2 separate regions of the Homo sapiens genome follow, and region 2 is linked to region 1. The links are contacts of gene promoters, found by promoter capture Hi-C in blood cells and fetal thymus (Javierre and others, 2016). All regions are on one chromosome and are shown on one strand. The core of a region is centred on a gene start or on the middle of the fragment in contact, and the rest is flanking DNA. Distances in the headings are between cores, read along the strand shown.

Evidence for each region. Contacts are between HindIII fragments. The CHiCAGO score rates a contact against its expected background, and 5 or more counts as called.
Region 2: a contact is called between a fragment that was not itself captured here and the fragment with the promoter of LRP3 in region 1, in 5 of 17 cell types (M0 macrophages, monocytes, megakaryocytes and 2 more). The highest score is 7.3, in M0 macrophages.

What each region holds. Positions count from the first base shown.
Region 1 is chr19:33,191,566-33,196,360 of GRCh38, reverse strand. It overlaps LRP3 (LDL receptor related protein 3), which reads right to left and starts at 2,031. Exons shown (of 7, transcript NM_002333.4): 1 at 1,503-2,031. The coding sequence starts at 1,575. The HindIII fragment of the contact is 39,491 bases long and covers 1-4,384 here.
Region 2 is chr19:33,404,134-33,408,566 of GRCh38, reverse strand. All of the region lies in intron 11 of PEPD (peptidase D), which reads left to right. LOC124904692 (a long non-coding RNA gene) reads right to left here. Exons shown (of 2, transcript XR_007067229.1): 2 at 1-4,278. Among named protein-coding and RNA genes, the nearest start is that of CEBPG, 33 kb to the right of the region's middle. RefSeq lists an enhancer at 1,310-1,867. The HindIII fragment of the contact is 2,493 bases long and covers 1,209-3,701 here.

The DNA of each region.
Region 1 (4,795 bases), core at 782-3,281:
GGCTGGTCTTAAACTCCTGGCCTCCAGCAATTCTCTTGCCTTGGTCTCCCAAAGTGCTGGGATTACAGGCACCTGCCACCGCACCCTGGCCTGCTCCTACAACTTTGAAGGGCTTCCCCCTACCAAGGGGCTTTGCTCGCCCAGCAGCAGCAGAGGCAGGAGGGGAGGCAGTTCTGATAATCCCCATTTACAGGGCACGCAGCTAGTGACGGAACCATCCTCTTCCCCCGTGCCAAGCTGACTTTGAGGAGGAAAGCAGAACTCCCCAGCCACCCCTCAAGCACCCACCTCCGTGGGGTTTGGCCCTTACTTTCACCTTCTGCTCTGGCCCGGGGGGTTACGGGCCCAGAGTCGGGGGGTGGGGGGAAACCCAACTTCCCGGGGTTCAGGATGTGTGTCAGATCCCGCCTGGCCAGGAAGCAGGAACCGCTGCCCCCACCCAGGACACCCAGGCCCCCTGGACAGAGCCAGGCCAAAGCTCCTAAGCATGGAGCGCCTGTCCCCCTGCTCTGCTCACCAGGGATGCCAGCACCCAGCAGCTCAGAGCCCAGCACACATGACCCCGCACTGAGGTTGGGGTGGGCGCGCTGGGGTTACACCCTCAATGCTCCCCAATGGCACATTCCCACTGAGCCAGGCTCACACAGCTGGGGCAAGGGCCTGCCAGAGCCTCGGAGCTCCCTGAGGCCTGGGGGTGATTACTTTGTCATTTCAGTGGCTTCAGCAAACCTGTCAGGTTACAGAGCCCTCACTGGTGACATCACAGGGTGTCCCCTAATGACCCCCAGTTCTTATAATGGCCTCCCTCCTTCATCACAGTAAATAAAGGAGCCATGTGGGTTGGGGATTTAACTCCTCCTCTCGCCTACACAGAGCGCTGGAAAGCTGGACAGAAAAACTCCCGGACAGGGCGGGAGCCCCTCCCACCCCATGCCTGGCCTTGACCGGTCCCTGGCCCAACCCAAGCACCCTCCTAAACTGAACAGGCCTGCCTGGGGGCTGAGAGACACAAAGGGAAAACAGGAGTCCCCTGGAAGCCGCCTCCACACTGGCACCCTCCTCCAGCCCTGCCCCGCACCCCGAGTCCCCATCTGCGGCTTACACCAGCCCCCACCCCAACTCCGGGCCGGAAACAGTTTCTTCTTCAGGGGACAGCCGGCCTGGCCTTTGTCCCCAGCTCCCGGGGCCCCCTCGTCTCCAGGCTCAGCGCGGGCGGGCCGGGTTGAAGGCTGCCGCCTGCACGAAGGGCCTCCTGCCAGCGCTCAGCCCGGGCTCCGGGCGCTACTCCGAGCGGGGCGGGAGCCGGGGCTGCGCCACCAGAGTCGCCCTCCCAGGCCCGGGGCCAGGCGGGCAAGCGGTGCTGGCCCCTCTCTGGGTCTCCGCGCGGGAGCCACCGCGGTGGGGGGCTCGGGATGCCGCGGCCGGAGAGGAGGTCGGTCAGGGCGCGGCGCGGACTGCCATGCGGGGGACCCGGACCTGCCCGGCCCGCGCGGCCCACTCACCCAGACAGACGACGGCCAGCTGCGCCCGGGCGCCCGGCGCGCCCTCCAGCCCCGCGGCCGCGCGCTTCTCCATGCCGGGCCCGGCCGCCCGCGGGCGCCGCCTCCTGCCCCGCGGCTCCGGCTCCGGTTCCGGCTGCGGCTCCGGCTCTGGCTCTGGCTGCGGCTCGGGCTCGGGCTCGGGCTAGGGCTCGGGCTCCGGCTGGCGTGGCTGCTGCGGCCCGGGTGCAGGCGGCGGCTCCCGAGGCGTCTTTGTGCGGTGGCGGTGCAGGCCCGTAGGGCGCGCGCGGCCACATCGGCCGCGGCGTCACGGGCCCTGCGGGGGCTCAGCGGCGGCCGCCAGGGAAGACCCCCGCCCGCCGCTGCCCCCGCGCCCCGGGAGCCCCGCCGCGGCCGGCCTGGGCCCGGGGACCCCCGGCGCGCCCATGCCCCGCGGCGCGCAGCCCGCCCGGCCCCGGCGTCCCCGGGCCGCCCCGCGCTGCGCCCAGCCCGCCCGGCCGGGTGCCGCCGGTAGAGCGTCCGTGGGTCTGTCAGTCCTCCCGCCCGGCCCCTCGCCCGCGCCCGGAGCCTGGAGGCCGCGCTGCGCCAGCCACGTGACGCGCCCGCCGAGCCGCAGTGGCGCTGGCTGGGCGGGCGGAGGCGGCTGGGGCGGGCCGGGGGCGCACGCCCCGCCTCGGGGTGCTGGACAGCTCTGCGCACCAGCCCCGCCCCGCCCGCGCCCCCCGCCGCGCTCCCCGCGCTCCAGCCCAGTGCTCCAGGCAGCCGGTGCTCGCCTGGCCTCCTCCCGGGCCCACGAATTGATCCCTCCTGGAGCCGGCTGTGCTGAGGAGGACCGGGGAGCGAGGACTGGGAAAAGGTGGGAGAGAGAGGACGGCTTAGGGACCTCATAGGGGTGGCACAAGGCTAAGGCCTGTCTTCTTCGCAAGGTGTCCCTGTTCCTGCCCCTCCGCTTCTTTCATTTGCCACAGTCCAAGTGCCCTGTCACGTCTCTAAGAGGAACCCCCTGTGCCAAGCAAGACCTGTCAGGGGACATTGGTGAACACACCAGAGGCCTCTGGAGATCTCCCAGGGCCCCCTGAGCCCACCCTGTTACCCACTATCCTCGTGAGGCTGGGGACTTGGGAGGAGGCCTGCTTCTTAGGCTGGGGGTGCCCTCTGGAGAGCTGCCCACCAAGAGGTTGAGTCCAATGAGGCAAGAACCAGGAGAGACAGGGGGAAGGTTTGAGAAGGCCATTTAGGGCCAAGACGGATGTGAAATCAGAGGTCCCCAAAGGCTCCATGGCACAGCGGGCCCACCAACCTGAGCTGAGGCTCCCAACCCTTTTCTAACACCCCCAGACCCTCATTTGATATTCTCCGTTTATGGAGAGAAGGTTGAGAGAAACTGATGGTCCGTTAGTGAAAGCGTAGACAGTCACTCACTCACTCGCACTGTGCAGGTTGATTGGATTTTAATAAAAAATGGGGGGAAGAAAAATCCTTTTAGTTTTTCTGGGTTTTCTTATTCTCTCTCTTCTAATTCCTTTGGTGATTTTTCCAAAGCAGACTTCTTAGGAAATGTATTAAAGGACGTAAAAATCAAATAACAAGATACATTACAGATTGATGGCATAGAGCACTAGCCTATGTGTAATTTGGTTTCAGAATTTCCTCAGACTGCTGACTGCGGATGAGCAGGCATTTATTTACGCATGGCAAAAATGCTCAACAGAGGCAGGGGCAATGGTAGGGTGGATCTGCGGTTTGTTCGTTTGTTGTTGTTGTTGTTGTTGTTGCTGCTGCTGCTGCTGCTTCTTAGTTTTTTTAGAGACAGTCTCACTTTTTCACCCAGGCTAGAGTGCAGAGCTGCAACCATAGCTCACTGTACCCTCAAACTCCTGGGCTCAAGCAATCCTCCCACCTCAGCCTCCCAAGTAGGTGGGATGACAGGTGTGCACCACCATGTCAGGCTAATTTTTTCATTTTTTTGTAGAGACAAGGTCTTGCTCTGTTGCCCAGGCTGGAGTGCAGTGGTGTGATCACGGCTCACTGCAACCTCAAACTCCTGGACTCAAGGGATCCTCTTGCCTCAGCCTCCCAAAGTGCTGGAGTTACAGACAGGACCCACCACACCTGGCCAAAATATGCGGTTTTGTTGAAGATGCTGCCTGCTTCAATGCATGTTTTGCACGTTATGTAAGGAATCTAGGGTCCAGACCAATGACCAATATGGGAATCATGTTGGAGCCTGAAGCAAAAGAAAAATGTGAGCCCCTAGACACACTTATCAAAATATCCTCCCATATTTTGAACCAAGTGGAAAGGCTAAGAAAAGCTCTACAATCACATGACTATATCTAAATCTCCATGCTCCCCAATCTATGCACATCCCATTGTGAACCCTCATAAACCCATAAGGCAAGAAACGGCCAAGGTACCCAGGAACCTTGGGCTGATTGGAAACAACTGTCCCCATTGCACACACACAAAAAATTTGCATTAAAGTTGATTTATCTTCATTATTGAGTTTTTTGGCACTTCCTTCAATTCTGTGCCCAAGGTGAGTGCCTCACTGCCCTATCCTACTCCCGGCCCATATTGAGACCCCGGCCCATAACTGACACCCCATTTCCCGTTTGTCTCATGATGGTCTAGTGCCCCCTAGAGGTTGCTGTGCCAGGCAAGACCCTTGCTGGGGGTCCCCAATGCAGCTCTGGCCCAGTCCTCTCCCCCACCGCCCTCTCACCACATCTGGAAAGGTTCCTGGTATTCCTGTCTCTGCTTCAACACTCTTCCACGCTAGCTGCAATCGCCTGGGTCTCTCCACCTCTGAAACCTTTTCGTAAACCTCCCTCATTGACTCAAGCTATATCCAGAACGTGTCTATTCATCACAACCCAAAAGCTTCTAACCATTGGAGAATTCAGTACTGGGAAGGAGATGGTGGGCATGGACCCAGAATATGGGAACTGACTGGCTGGGGCAGGTGAGGGAGCAGTGGTGGGGCAGAGGGCTCAGACATGAGAGCAGGGGCTTCCTGGCAAGAAGCTGGCCTTCCCAGTTAGGAGGAAGCAAAGCTGCTGTCACAGTCACTGTGGGCCAGTGACGCCTTCAGGAATCTGCTGCAGGAGTGAGGAGCCACAGGACATGCAGAGAGGAGACGGAAGGGACACAGAGGCATCCCATGTAAGTCCCCACTCCATCCCATACGAGAGGGCCACCACCATTGCCCACTCATCAGCCACATACCCCGAGCCCTCGTGGGACACAGAAGAAACCAATGACACAGGAGAGTCCCACATCCTCCCCCAACATTC
Region 2 (4,433 bases), core at 1,206-3,705, 210 kb before region 1:
GCAGAAGGGTGGGGGGTACTAAGAGGAGGCCAGCCTTTTCCATCCCTCTCTCCACAGTCCCAGATATGAGCACTCCCCCAACACGCACACACATGGATACACACACAGGGAACTGACCGAGGCTGTGCTGCGTTGCAATGATCACAGTGTAAGCCCCTGCCTCCCTCTCTCGCAGTGGCCACCTGGCACAGCGTGGGCCCTCTTCGGGCAAGAGCAGCAGGCCCGGTGTCCTCACCGAGCTGGGCAGGCCAGGCCCTGATGCCCACTTCCAGCAGCTGGTTCTGCAGCACAGGCTGGAGGTGGGAGCCACAGGCAGAGCTCAGGCCAGGCCTGGTTTATTCTCAGACAGCTCCCGTCCCCTGGTTGTCCTGTTCCGTGTCTTCGACCCAAAAGTGTCCTCCATGATGCGTACATCAAGCGGGGTTTGGGGCTGGCTAGGCCCCCCTCCTACTGCTCCGTCCTTACCCTTCCAGCAGCTTCCCTGGAGCTAGGCTGAGTCCACTGTTGGCCACAGTCATGGTCCAAGAGGGCCTATGAACCAGACACCCTGGTTCCTGCTTCAGGTCAGGCTTGTCAGCCAAGGACTGAGACAGACTTCCTGAGGGCCGTCCCTCACCCCCAGCCAGCCACCCCCGGGCCCCTTCCCGCTTCTCTGGGTGTGATGCCACCACACCCACTCGCATGCACGCAGGGGTGAGGGACGGGACTTTGTGGTGGCTGCATACACCCTCAGCCTGGTTCAGAGCCAAGCGGCCCCATGTGGGGCCTGTAGCCGTCAAGCCTCCGGGGGTTTTGCTGTTGTTCTCAGAGTCTTTTCCCGCTGTGATCCTGGGGTTCGCCATGAACCCCATCTCCAAGTCACTGTACCAGAGGGGCCATTCGCTGCTTTTTTTGTTTTCCTTTTTAAACCCCTCAGGCAGACCTTCAAGAACAGGGTTACAAAAGCGCAGCACACTTGCTAATTAACACTTTCAACATGTTCACACAGATTGAGGTGCCTGAGATCACTGGAGGCCATTCCTAAGTGGGAGGCCCCAGAAGACCCCTCCCCACTCACTCCAGCCCCGAACAGGTTTGTGTGAGCACAGAGGTGGCCAGGACTCATCCCCCTGCTTCTCCTGGTCGTCTTCTGAGCCCCCATGTGCTGCCCCCTCCTTCCACAAACAGCCTGGGCTGTGGGCACCAGAGCCACTGCAGGCCAGCAAGCTTCGCAGCTAGGGCAGGGGGCGCATGGTCCACGATTCTGGGAAGCAGTGCGCCCAGAGAGGGACCATCCCTTGCAGCACTCCGGGCCTGAGGCCGCCCCAGGTCCTGGAGAGGCTCACCCCACAGGGCAGAGGTGGAGGGCTCTGGTTGGGAAAGCAGCTGGGACACTCCTCCTGCCTCCCTCACTTCCCGATCAGGTGGTGGGGGTTGGAGGGGGGCCTTAATCTACTGTGGCCCCTCGCAGAGTTTCTAGAGCACGTGTCCCAGGATGCCCCAGGCCTTGGTTGTCCCAGTCGGGATGCAGCTGGTGGGCAGCAAGCCTGTCCTTCCAGAACTGGCCAGAAGAGGGCAGTGTTGTCTCAGGACGATGGGCCAGGCCTCACCCCTGCTGGGCCTGGTCTTTTGTGTTGCTCCTGGGCATGGGGGGTGGGTGGCCAGCCTGGCTAGGAGGAGAGACCTGTCCCAGCCCTCACACTCAGCAGCCACCAGTGCCCTCTTCCCCTCCTTCCCTGGCTAGATAATGGCGAGACCTCGACCCTGCAGGCCATGGGGTGCCCGCTCACCCAGGACCTCAGCAGCCACCTTGGCCTCACATGGGCCCTGCAGCCTGGGATGCGGCCAGCCTACTCCTGCTGTCTACTCAGCCTGAGTCTGTCTGCCACCATCGCGCTGCGGACCCCATGGGTGACAAGCTCCTGGGGACCCCCTTGCCCCACTCCACCTGGGGCCCAATGCTTTGGTGAGCTCCAGGGTAGAGCGTTGCCCCCAGGCCTGCTCTCTGCTGCCTGTCCCAGCCCAGCTCTCCCCCACCACCTTGCTGTTTCCTCCGAGGGAGACTTGTTGTCACCAGCCAGCCCTGCCCTGAGCACTCTGCGGTCTTAAAGACATGCTCTTGGGGCCACAGAACGCCCTCAGGAGGGTCCAGACCCACAGGCATGGCCGTCCCATCCCATCCCAGTTAGGAGCGTGCTCTCCATTCTCACCCGTCCTCATACACATGGACAGGCCTGGTTATGAGCAGACACCTGCCCACGCGTTTTCGGTTTGTCTCTTGTTTGTGCTTCGTGGCTGCACCCTCCTCAGCTGATGTCATGACCCACAGTTTGAACAGCACTTGTCCAGACATCCTGGGTGCTCCCAGACATCATGAGACACTGGTCACCAAAAAAAGCAAAATACAGCATGTGCTGCGCGTGTGACTCTCCCTCCCGCCTGCCAAGGCCACTGCCCTGACGCCCGGGCCTCACCCCACTGTGCTTTCCTGGCAGCTGTCCTTGTGTCTCACCCACCTCTGGACGAGGCACCCCACAGTGCTCTTCTGGGACCCGGGGCCCCTCACTGGTGCCGTGCCTCTGTCCATGTCATGCATAAAATGGCAATGCCAGTTCCCTCCAGACACCCAGGAGGCCCACAGGACGCAGCTGCTCCCGTCACCCACCGCGTGCACCAGGGATTGCTGGCTCTGGGGACCAGAAGCTGCTGCTGTCATGGGCTGGCGGCATGGGCAGCTTTCCTGTCTGCCGAGGCCCTGGAGGAGTGGCCGTCACACGAAAAGGGGGCAGAGATGCCCAGGAACGCACTGGAGAGAGGTCCCCTTGGTGGGTTAGGCCATGGCACGGGGAGCCTCAGGGACTCCGAGTGGTGGCCTTTGTCCCTGCTGGCCACGCTTGGAGCTTGGCACTCCACGGAAGGCCTGGCTGGGAGCAGGCAGCCGGCCCATGCACCCTGGAGACCACAGCTCGCCACCGTGTCTGCAGGGGCCGCCCACTGGGGCAGATGAAGGGAAGAGTGACCCATACGCCTCCCTTTCGGTCTCACACTGAGGAGAAGCAAGTGCTTCCTGCTGCTCAGCAATCCCCCAGCCTGGCCTGGGACACTGACCAGGGCAGCTGCACATCGGAGTCTGCAGTGCTTCTGCAGCCCCGAATATGAGCGCGTGTAAACTGTTGGATTGAACAGCTAAGAGCCGTGCCACTACTCAGGAGATTCAAATGAAACTGCAAACCAAGTCCAAAGTGGCTCTCATATAAACATTGCAGCATTTCCCCCAGAAAACTGTTCCCAAGCCTTCCGTCACTGGCCGACCCATCTTGGAGGCCTTCTGCCTCTGGGCTGGCGGGTCCCTGCCATGGGGCCCAGGGAGGGTCTGGGTGGGCCAGTGGTGGCAGGTAGCCCAGGCCCAAAGCTACCCAGAAGGAGCCAGAAACAGAGCCCTCAGAACACATGTGGGGAGTGAGACGCCAGCACGTTGTTTGGAGATGCATCCTGTCTCCCAGATGTCTTGTATTATCATCGACTCACTCGGCCAAAGATGGTAGGGTCCCCAGACAGCCAGGAAGGAGGGATCCTGCGTGCCTGTTCTCGATTGAGCCAACGTATGACCGAATTCTCCATTGTCGGTTTGCATTCAGAGGATGGATGAAGTGGACGCAGAGGAGCGGGAGGGAGATGATTTATCAAAGCCATGGCTTTCGTCCCTGGATTCCAGAAAAGCTTGCATCTGAATAACTTATGTGTGTAGAAACTCTAGGGGGATTTTTTTAAGGCAGAAAAAGATAGGGAACTGAGAGGAGCACGAAAATAGACTTCAGCTCCATACCCGAGCCTCGCTGGGCAGGATGGAGCTGGCTGGCTGGGTGTATACTTCCCCCTCCAGAAAGCAGATCATTTTCAAACAAGAAATGCAGTTACAGTCTTCTACAAGCTGGAAGATAAAGTCAGGCTGGCGGATGATATCCAGGCACCCACCATCCCATGGTCTTTCTGCTTTGCTGGCGGGAGTTTGGGGAACTGGGATCTGAGTCTGGTCTGCACTGGAGAACAGTCTTGTTTTTACATTCCTAGATGATTTCATTGTTCGGGGTATTCTTGTGGGCTTCCTGGTTGTTGTTGTTGTTGTTGTTTTTTAAACGATAGTTCAGTTTCTGCTTTTTCTTTTGTGTCAGCACAGTCCGGTAGGACTTTCTGCCCCGGCTGCTGTTGCAGGTCACCTTCTGATTTGGCGCCTCCTAGGAATCCGTGTCCCCCATACTCCTGGCCCTGTCCTCTCTGCCCAGGCTATTCTTGCATGTTCTAAAACCAACAAACCACAAACCATTTTTCTTGGTTGACTCTGGGGAACCTAAATGAAAATGCTTAGCTGTCCCCAGGCAAAACTGGGCTGTGTTCCATATGGCTCCACTCCCCAGAGCTACAGCAGTGGGAGGGTCCCATTTTACAGATGGAAA